3 separate regions of the Homo sapiens genome follow, and all the other regions are linked to region 1. The links are contacts of gene promoters, found by promoter capture Hi-C in blood cells and fetal thymus (Javierre and others, 2016). All regions are on one chromosome and are shown on one strand. The core of a region is centred on a gene start or on the middle of the fragment in contact, and the rest is flanking DNA. Distances in the headings are between cores, read along the strand shown. Region 1 holds the start of LINC03033 (long intergenic non-protein coding RNA 3033). Region 2 overlaps SYT16 (synaptotagmin 16). Region 3 overlaps SYT16 (synaptotagmin 16).

The links. Contacts are between HindIII fragments. The CHiCAGO score rates a contact against its expected background, and 5 or more counts as called.
Region 2: a fragment that was not itself captured here is called in contact with the fragment with the promoter of LINC03033 in region 1 in 1 of 17 cell types (naive B cells); the score reaches 5.4 in naive B cells.
Region 3: a fragment that was not itself captured here is called in contact with the fragment with the promoter of LINC03033 in region 1 in 1 of 17 cell types (naive B cells); the score reaches 5.3 in naive B cells.

Annotation. Positions count from the first base shown.
Region 1 is chr14:61,568,975-61,572,144 of GRCh38, forward strand. It overlaps LINC03033 (long intergenic non-protein coding RNA 3033), which reads left to right and starts at 1,566. Exons shown (of 3, transcript NR_039985.1): 1 at 1,566-1,786. LINC01303 (long intergenic non-protein coding RNA 1303) reads right to left here and starts at 1,679. Exons shown (of 5, transcript NR_110416.1): 1 at 1,512-1,679; 2 at 570-703. RefSeq lists an enhancer at 1-272 and a silencer at 664-856. The HindIII fragment of the contact is 753 bases long and covers 1,233-1,985 here.
Region 2 is chr14:62,112,243-62,115,412 of GRCh38, forward strand. SYT16 (synaptotagmin 16) reads left to right here. Exons shown (of 8, transcript NM_001367656.1): 8 at 1-308. Among named protein-coding and RNA genes, the nearest start is that of LINC00644, 26 kb to the right of the region's middle. The HindIII fragment of the contact is 569 bases long and covers 1,399-1,967 here.
Region 3 is chr14:62,093,600-62,096,769 of GRCh38, forward strand. The region is part of intron 7 of SYT16 (synaptotagmin 16); the gene reads left to right. Among named protein-coding and RNA genes, the nearest start is that of LINC00644, 45 kb to the right of the region's middle. The HindIII fragment of the contact is 1,594 bases long and covers 761-2,354 here.

The sequences.
Region 1 (3,170 bases), core at 316-2,815:
CCTGGCGCTCTGGCCGCAAATGTCTTGCGCTTTCCAGGCAACTGCCAGATTGAAGGGGCTTTTCCCCAATGTAGACCTGTGCTCTGTGTGCTAGGAGGCCGAGGTTCCAGTCCAGGCTCGGCTTCTGACTCCCTACTTTAGGAGGAATCACTGAATTGACTGCAGCTCGGCTTCTGCTCTGTAAAATGGGGCTGTTGCTAGCTGAGCCTCTTCTGCCTCTGGTAGAAAATGATTCCAAGTGGCTGCCCTGTCCACCCTAATCCCATGGCCCGAACTTGATGTCTGCTGCTTCTAGAAGCCTAGTGCTCCAAATATCTGCTCTGGGAGGGACTTGCAGATGATCCTGATTGGAAATGAGGCTGATTAACCTTTTGTGTATCATTGACTCTAGGACAATCTGTTGAAACCTAGGGGCTCTTACCCTAGACAAATTAACACACCAGCCAGATACAGCTTACAAGGGCAGAGAGTTGCTGGTTTGAACCACAGACCCCTGGTTTAACATCTGTAATCTAGTCAACCCCTCCTCTTTCTTGAAGGCTGAACCAAACACGAAGGGTTTTCCCCACCTTCCAATCCTCATACATGCAGACACCCCCTTTTCCTGCTTTCTCCTTCAGTCATCTTCCTCACCATCCCCCATGCTTGGGCACTCTCAGGAGGGAAATTGTCCTATAAATATCTGTAAAAGGCATGGTATGTCCTGTAGCAGAGAAAGCAAAAAATAAAAATATAATTCCTCCACCCCTGGCATGGCACGTGCAGAGCTCTGCCTGATCCTTCTCTCCCACAAGCCTCGGGGGTGGGTAAACAAAAGTGAGAGGTGAAGCTGCTGCAGCGAAGTACCCCTTCAAAATCTTCAGTACCCTTCAGAGCCAGCGCTGTCATCACTATCACATAAACTGTACAACTCCAACGTCAACCAGCAGCCGCCTGGCTGGCAGCAGGAAGAGCCAATGCAATTTTGCACAGTGGCTTGCTTGCCCAAGGTATTGCCTGGCAAATGGGCTTCTTGTGCAATGGGGAACCACAGGGAGGGGCCTCTTAAATGTACCTCAAAGAAACAGCTCTAACAATGGATGATTCAACAGGCTAGTAATTGGCGCTCACTCTTACCACATTGTTTTGATAAAACGACATAGCCCAACTGGGGATATGAAGGCAGTAAGTAGAAAAGCTAACCTCTTGCTACTCAAATTGTGGCTGAGAACCAGCGACATCCCATCACCAGAAGCTTTATAGAAAAGCCAGGCTCTGTCCCAGACCTATTGAAAGGAGATCTGCATTTTAACATGATTGCGAGAGGATCCACATCTTAAAGTTTCAGAGGCCTAATCCAAAGTCTTCTGATAATGATCATTAGAGTCCCAGCCACCCCCGACTTCCCCCTGGGAAAACCACAACAAATAGAACAAATTCCTCCAAGCTCTGCTCATAAGAAGAACCCACAACCCACAGACACCCCCTCACTCAACTAGAGACCTCACCCACCTGTTTGCAGAGTCACCCACCTTGGGCTACTTCTTTTCTACTATTTAATCTTCTGGGAAAACAGAGGTCTTCTATTTGGAGATAAAAATGACAAAGGAGAACCTCCTGAACAGCATCCAGTTTGCTTTTAGCTTTAGCCATCTCTCTGACCTCAGTGCTGCTGGACTCAGTTCCAAGATCTAACTGTCAAATGCTTTAGGGGAAACGGGAAGAGAAGTCCCTGGAGTAACCCATGTGCGCAGCCTGGCACTGTTTTCACTTGCCTTTGGAAATGAAGGTGCAGAAACCATGGGAGGTAAGGAGGGCACAGACTAGTGACTTCCAGTGTGGGACAGAGGGGAAAAGATGGAAGAGAAGTGCAGAAAACCACTCGGGAAAAGACAGGCTGGAGTGATGCCTGCTGAGACAGGGCCCTGATCTCCCAGGACTTCCCTTTCTGCCTGTTCTGTAGAAATGTCTCGGGTTTTGTGGTTTAGGAAAAGAGATGCTTAGCAAGCTTGTAGAAAATGTAATGTGGGCACTTTGTTGCTGTCCTGGCTTTTAAAGGACTCTGAAGCAGATCAGCTTCAAGGTATTGGCTATTCTGTTTGCAGCCTTAGAAAGACATCCTTGATGTTTTATTGTTCTGCCTTTGCTAAGAGCTGGAAACTCTCCCTGGGGAAATGGCTCACCTTGAAAGAGATGCTATCGTAGCTGAAAATGTTTTAGCTTCACTTCCAATCTCTGGTTCCTTGTGGGAAGTAACTGCTGCTGTGGTATATATGCCCTGTGCCTTTTATTTTTACCATCTTTACCTCGGTGGACACAGCTGGTTGAAACTCAGTAAAACTTATGCTTCCATGGAGATTGATTCAGACAACAGGAAAAATAAGTGTAGAAAAAAACTGCACAGTACAAGGGCTAGATTCAGGTTGTAGAACAAAGTGATTATTACTTAGAATCCTGGATTAGCAAGAGAATAAGAAAGATGCTGAGATTACCTAGTGTTATCACCATCCACGTGAAACGTAGAATAAAACTTTTTCCCCACCACATAGATATTGGGCAGTTTATTATAGATGCTACAAAGGGATTTATTATATTTTTCCCAAAATGGTTAATTAGAGGCATCCCAAATTACAACTCCTTTAGCATAACTCCCAGCTCCATGCAGCCTACTTACTAAGGACCCAGCTACTGACAGCTCAGCTCTTTGCCAATCCAACTTTTTTTCCCCATATGCTCAAACTTTTCTTCTCCAAGAAGACTTCCTGAATGATCCCAATTCATAGGGATCTCATCCTTAATGCAGGGGAAATTCACTGTTCTGGAGTAGTCTACCATACCATCACGCTCTTCTTTTTGTGTAATCCTGGATTTCTTCTCCAGTTGTTTTATTCTTGCCTGTCTACACAGATAGATCAGTAGCCTTCAATAGTCTGCATCTCCTGTTATCTTGCAGCCTCCTACTATAAACAGTAGGTGCTTTACTTATGCCAGTTGGGTTGACCTAGACAGTAGTCTCTAAGTAGCAGTCCTTGGCTCATCCTTCTGAAACCAACGAGCTCTTAGGCAGGCTGAGAAAGGGTTAGGACTGTTCACTCTGGGACATCCTTGGCTCTGTATGAGTGTTGTTTTTAAAAGCAGGGATTTTGTCTCCAGTGCATTGAAGAGATAAAACCCCATTGTCAGCATATTTC
Region 2 (3,170 bases), core at 433-2,932, 540 kb after region 1:
TTAGAAGAATTATACTGTTTTTCTTGTGCAAATAATACTTAAGGCAGATGTTCAGTCTCACAGTGATGTTGGAAAGCATATTTTATGCAGTCTAAACACTATTTCTGTATTAGATATTTAAATGCATGAGGATAAATTCTAATTGCTTTTTGTTTAAAACAGAAACATAGAAGAAGCATTAGCCCCAGTTTGTATAAAATGTCTGCTGCAACTGAATTCATGATAGTTCATGAAAACTGAAAATCATTCCAATTTTGTAAAACTGCTGCTACTGGTTTTATCAATAAAGTTTTAGCAGATGGCTTATATGTACATGTGTGAAAATTTTTTATGTTAAAAAAAGATACAGTTTTGCAGCATCAACATGCAAATTTTATGGGCCTGAATGATACTGCTTATTTTAGTATATACAAAAACCATTAACTTCAAAACCATACCAACTGCAGACATATATTTTAGAACTATAAGCATTACATGTATGATCCATACAGTTTATTTGGTTTCAGGGTGCTGTAGGCTTTTATGGTGAACACATATACAAATCAACATATACCAGTTCAAATGCTGACTTGAAGAACATCAGGTAAGGAGCTATATAAATGTAAGGATCACCTGAATTAATTAAATTGCATCTAAAGGGGATTCTGAGAAGGCAAACTGCAAAGTGTAGGTGTTCATGTACAAAAGTGTATGTAATTCCTCATTAGAGAAGCTCTTGTCCAGAACACTTTCCCCTCTATGAATACCCAGTTCTCAAAAGTTAACAAGGCTCAGATGCAACAAGCTAGAAGTAGAGGGAGCTGAGTTATTATATTCGGACACCTACATAGCACTCAAAACATGGCTGACTTCCCCCAAACAGAAAAGCATAGAGAAATACAATTCTATAGATGTTTCAGTGACAATTTTTAACAATTTTACAATTCTGTATTAGTTGAGGTAATGTTACCTGTTGTAATAACCCAAAATGTCAGTTGACTCACATAAGAAAGGTTTATTTCTCCCTCATCTGGGATGTTTTTGGCCATTCAGTTTTCTTTCTAGCAGTATCTCAGGGATTGAGGCTCCTTTTGTGATTTGGCCTTTCAGAGTCCTTATGGACTTTGAAGGAATGTATTGCCATGCAAATGGAGGAAGAAAAGCCATGAGGGTCAAATGATGTGTTTTAGGGGACAGGCTTAGAGGTGCTGCTCTTCACTTCTGCCCAAACTCCGTTGGCCAGAACTAGTCCAATGGGTCCACCTATATTTAAGAAGGCTGGGAATTGTAGTTTATTTATATGCCCGAGAAAATGAAACAGTATTGGTAAGACTCTTGTTAAGTCAGTTAAGTTATGGCATACTTACATTTTTAAAAAAATTATTTGAAATGTTGTGGTACTGGTGACTATTTATGAAAAGCTTATTGGTTGCTTAAGTTCTTTCTAACCCATGACAGCACTAGAACACTATGGGCTGATTAAGGGTTCTACTTGTACTTTTACATCCATAGTCACCTTAGACTTAGACCATTTCAACACTTGAAGGAGCATTGTTGCAAATAAAGACTATTTGAGTTCACATTTCCAAAGCCACAGGGCAAAGAGTTTTGAGCTAGTAGGCTGAGCAAGATTGACCATTTCTACATGTGTATGTGCACTAGTAGGTACATACATATATGGCATACTGAAAACATTAAAGCAAATATATGAGCAAAAGAAGAATAATGCAGAAGAAACATTTTTCCATATATGAATCTTAGAGTATGTCATCTGGAGAGCTTAAACTTGGCAAATGATTGCTATCTTGTGGCATTGCTTCAACACAGGCTTACCCATGCTGAAATGTTAAAATAATTGAGACAGCCATCTATGACTCTGGTTCTTTGGTTCTTTTTTTTTTTTTTGTCTTTTGTAGTAATTAAAAAATTGTGCTGTGTAGCATTTTATTGATAAGTCAAATAAGTCAAATCACATTATATGTATTGTAAGCTTCATAGTCTCCTTACAGTTTCTCTGGGGTTGCTCCAGAAAGATTCAGAAATATGGCTCAAGGGGAAGCTTGGGTGACATTTCACAGTGCTGATAAATTTTAATGTGCATTCCACTACATAATAAAACATCTGATTCTTTTCAGTAAACAGATAAGAAGTAGGAGACAGGATTGGCATTATATCTATGGTCATGTCGAGGAGGGACAAGATTGAGTGGTGAGAAGATTAGAATTTGGATAGATTCTAAGGTAGGTAGTATGGAATTTTAATATGTATTTTAAAATCCAAAATTGTTTAGTGAAAGATTCTAATCTTACAAGGAGAATTGCAGAATTTATCCAATTATATATGCAGACATAAATAACACAGTCGAGATTAAAATCATACCTGTTTTCTAATTCCAGTTATGCCATCAAGGAATCCTGTGATCTTGGATTACCTTGACCTTTCTTTCGTGTCTTCCAACATCTGTTATATCTTGAGGTAGTCCCAGAGGAGGAGGGGACTTGGCAATTATTTGTTGATTTAAACTGACAATAGTAAAGATTTCCTAGTCCATTCAGATAAAGTATAACACTAGACATACCATCCATACTGGTCAAATTACCTAGCTGCTCCCAAATACATTTTTTTCTCCATAAGATATAGCGTGTTGTTATGGAGGCTGCTTTTACCTGAGGTAGAGGAGTATTTTAAGGAAAAATGAAACCGTTCATCTCGGAGGTCTCACAACCACTTTAGAGGGTGTGGAAAGACAAGAATTAGGAAAATATATAAATGACTTTAGGTGAGTATTTCCCAATGCTATTAAAATGCAGGTAGTGACCTTTATAAGATGTTTTGAAAAGGAAAAAAAAAAGTCACTTTATAAACACAATGTCTCATTAAGGGAAGAAAACTATTTTCTGTATAACAGGCTTTCCCCCAGCTCCCTTCTTCTGCTTGAGTAACTGTAAAGACAGCAACTAGTGGCTGCCTTCAAGGTTAGTGTAAGTTCATGAACTGATAGCTACGTAGCTAAGGTGAAAACAGGGACCTCAAACCAGGCAGGGTGGATTCATCTATTCCCAGGCGTTCTTGGTTACCTTTGATGTACCAGGCACTGTGTGCTAGACAGTTGGGACACAGTGTTAACCAGGTGAACTAGCTTAAAATCTGGTGTAATGAATATTGTGAAATAGGATTGGTAGGGTGAATTG
Region 3 (3,170 bases), core at 308-2,807, 520 kb after region 1:
AGAATGATTTAATATTAGCAAAATCTGCTAGTGTAATTTACCATATTAACTGGCTTACGAGAAAGCCTTATGATAATCTCAGTAGATGCAAATAGAAGCTTTTGATTAAAAAATAAAATTTTTGAAAAAATTACGATTATCTCAATAGATGCAAAAAGTTGCTTTTGGCAAAATGCACTCTTCATTACTGACAAAAATCTTAGCAGATGTGTAATAGAAGATGTATTAATATAGACTAGGCTGTGATGTAATGATTAAACCCTGCTGACTCAGGGGCTTCACACAGCAAAAGCTTATTTCTCCTTTGCATTACAGTCCAAAGTAGTTATGTGACTGTTCTCTAAGCTGTAACTCAGACATACAGGCACTCCCCGTTTACTGAGGTGATGATATTCAAAATGTGACCTCCATTGTTGGCATGGAAAGGGAAGAGACAGCATGGGAGATTTATTGCTTGGGTGGGAGTGGTTGAATATAACCATGATTGAAGGTGACATTTATCACTTCTCATATTCCATTTTTCAGAACTCAGTCACATGGCTCAGATAATTCAATTCTGGTGTAAAGACCACACTGTTAATTTGATATTTGACCTGAATTAAATGTCACATTATTCACCTGAGAAAGTTTACTGGGCCTTTGTGGCTCAAAGCCTTTTAAAATCTCTTTCTTCAGAGATCCGGAATCAATCAACTCTTCCAGCCAGGGCTGAATTTCTGTATTTTCTCTTTTTTCTTGCATACTGGTCAGTTCTTTCCCAAGCTTAACTTTTCCCCTCTTCCCCCTAAATGCAGCCAGTAGTACTGAATACATACTTCTAACATTCCATTTTTCAATTTCTTTTTTTAGAGCAACAAACTCATTAGGCACATGTTCTTTATTCTAAGTTATAGCAGGTGGAAGTGTTACCATCTCATAATATGGATTATGGATCTTCGCTGTTATATCCTCTGATATTAGTTTATTCATTACCTGATACCCAACTTCTAGACCAATCCCCAATCTTATTTTATTTTATTTTTATGATAGCAACGTTCCAGTTCAGGTTAGTAATTACTGTATCAGTCACATATTTTCAGGAAAATAGCAAATATTCTAGGTATGTTTGATCAGAAGTTATTATGGGATTTAAACATTGGAAGACAAGGTAGTAAAGATCAGGAAGACTGTTTTCAGGAAGTTCAGGAGTATAAGGCATTACAGGAGAGATGTCAATAGGCTCTGAACTGTTTGCACACAGGACAGGCGATTTTTTTATAGGGATCTTTGATCAATATGGGCAAAATTTTTCCATTCTCATCTAATGATCACTATGGGCAAAAATTTTCCATTGTCATCTTCTAATGCCTACTCATGCCTGCAACCGGTTCTAGAGTACTGGGGCTCTCTCTCCTTCCACTTTCCTGTCTCTTGCCATAGCTTTCTTTAGTGGAACCTTACTGATAAGAGACTAGGGGAATGTCATTTTAAGGGTTTATATCTTTCACCCAGGAAAGATCTTAGAATGGTGGATATCGTAGTAAATATCAATAACTAATAATGTGGCACAGAAAGAAACTTGCTCAACTTGACAGTGGATATTTTAAGGAAATCTATACCAATTCTTAATCCTCAAATCCCTTTATAGTCAAGAGCAAAATAAGGATTCCCACCAGTAGTTTTGTTTAATATTAGACTGGAAACTTGAGGCAGTTAAGTATAATAAGAAAAATAAATAAACATTTAAAGATTGAAAGGAAGAAATGAAGCTGCCATTCATTATTTGTAGAAAATCTTATTATCAACATTAAAGATAAATGAAAATCTATAAAGTAATATTTCTTATATAAAATCAGTTGTGTTATAATACATCAGCAACAATCAGAAAGTGGAGCTTTAAAATGTTACTATTTATAATAGGAACAAAATATCTACGATACCAAAAAATAATAAAAGATGAATATGAAAATTATAGAAAAACAACAGAACTTTATGAAAGACACAAACAGAAACTATATACACACACACACAAACACACACATATCTATATATACTATGTTCATTAGCAAGAATATTCCATATTGTAAAAACAACAGTTTTTTTTCCACATTATATGTCCAGTACAATACCAAGTAGAATCCCAAGTGTTTCTTAGTATTTTTGTTTTAGTTTGTTTTTTTATCTTGTTTTGTTTTTTACAGAGCTTGGCAAACTCATTCTAAAATTCATATGCAAGAGCCAATTAAACCAAGCAAGAGAGTAGAATAACTAAAATAGCTTTTAAAAAGATGGTAGAGGGATTATCCCTAGCAGATATCAAGACATGTTATAAAATGATTATAATAAATATTGTCAGACTTAGGGAAAGACACTGAAGCTTGGAAACTTGATATTTGACAGACATGGTATTAGAAATTAGTGGGGAGATAATGGATTATTTAATGAATAATCCTTCCCATATACAAAATTTAGATCCCTACCTCACACCACATGCAAAGCTCAATTACAGCTGTATTAAAGATCAAGTGTGAAAAACAAGATCTTAAGATTCAGAAGATAATATGGGAGACTATTGAGTTTGGGTAGGGTTTCTTTTAAAAAGCATCAACTTAAAAGAAGACACCAATAAACCTGACTCCACAAAAATTTAAAACATTTGTACTGCAACTGACTATAAATGAAGCTGAAAGGCAGGTAGAAGGTAGTAGCAATTAATACAACTGGCAAAGATTTTGTGTCTAGAATTTGTAAAGAGCACAGTCATTCACTTCTAGGTATATCCTAGAGAAATTTTTGAATATTGATATAATGCAAAATAGAGAAAAACGTTCACTGAAATCTTTTTAATTTTTGGTAATTATAAGCAATTAAATGTTCATTAACAGAATGAAAAAATGAATTATAATTTATTAATACATTGGAACATTACACACAGAAGATAAAATAAATGAATCACATACATGTATACATAGAGATAATATAAAAAATTAATGGTAAATTAAGTTTTAGAAGGACATACACTACAATGTTAAATTTTCTAATGTGCAAAATTCTATTAAATATATTTTGGACACCTCTATTTACATATTGAAAGTTTAAATACATCTATGGAAATGATAAACTGGAAATGATAAACTCCAAATCCAACATAGTAATTACCTTTGTTGAGAAAAGAAGTTGGACAGGATCCC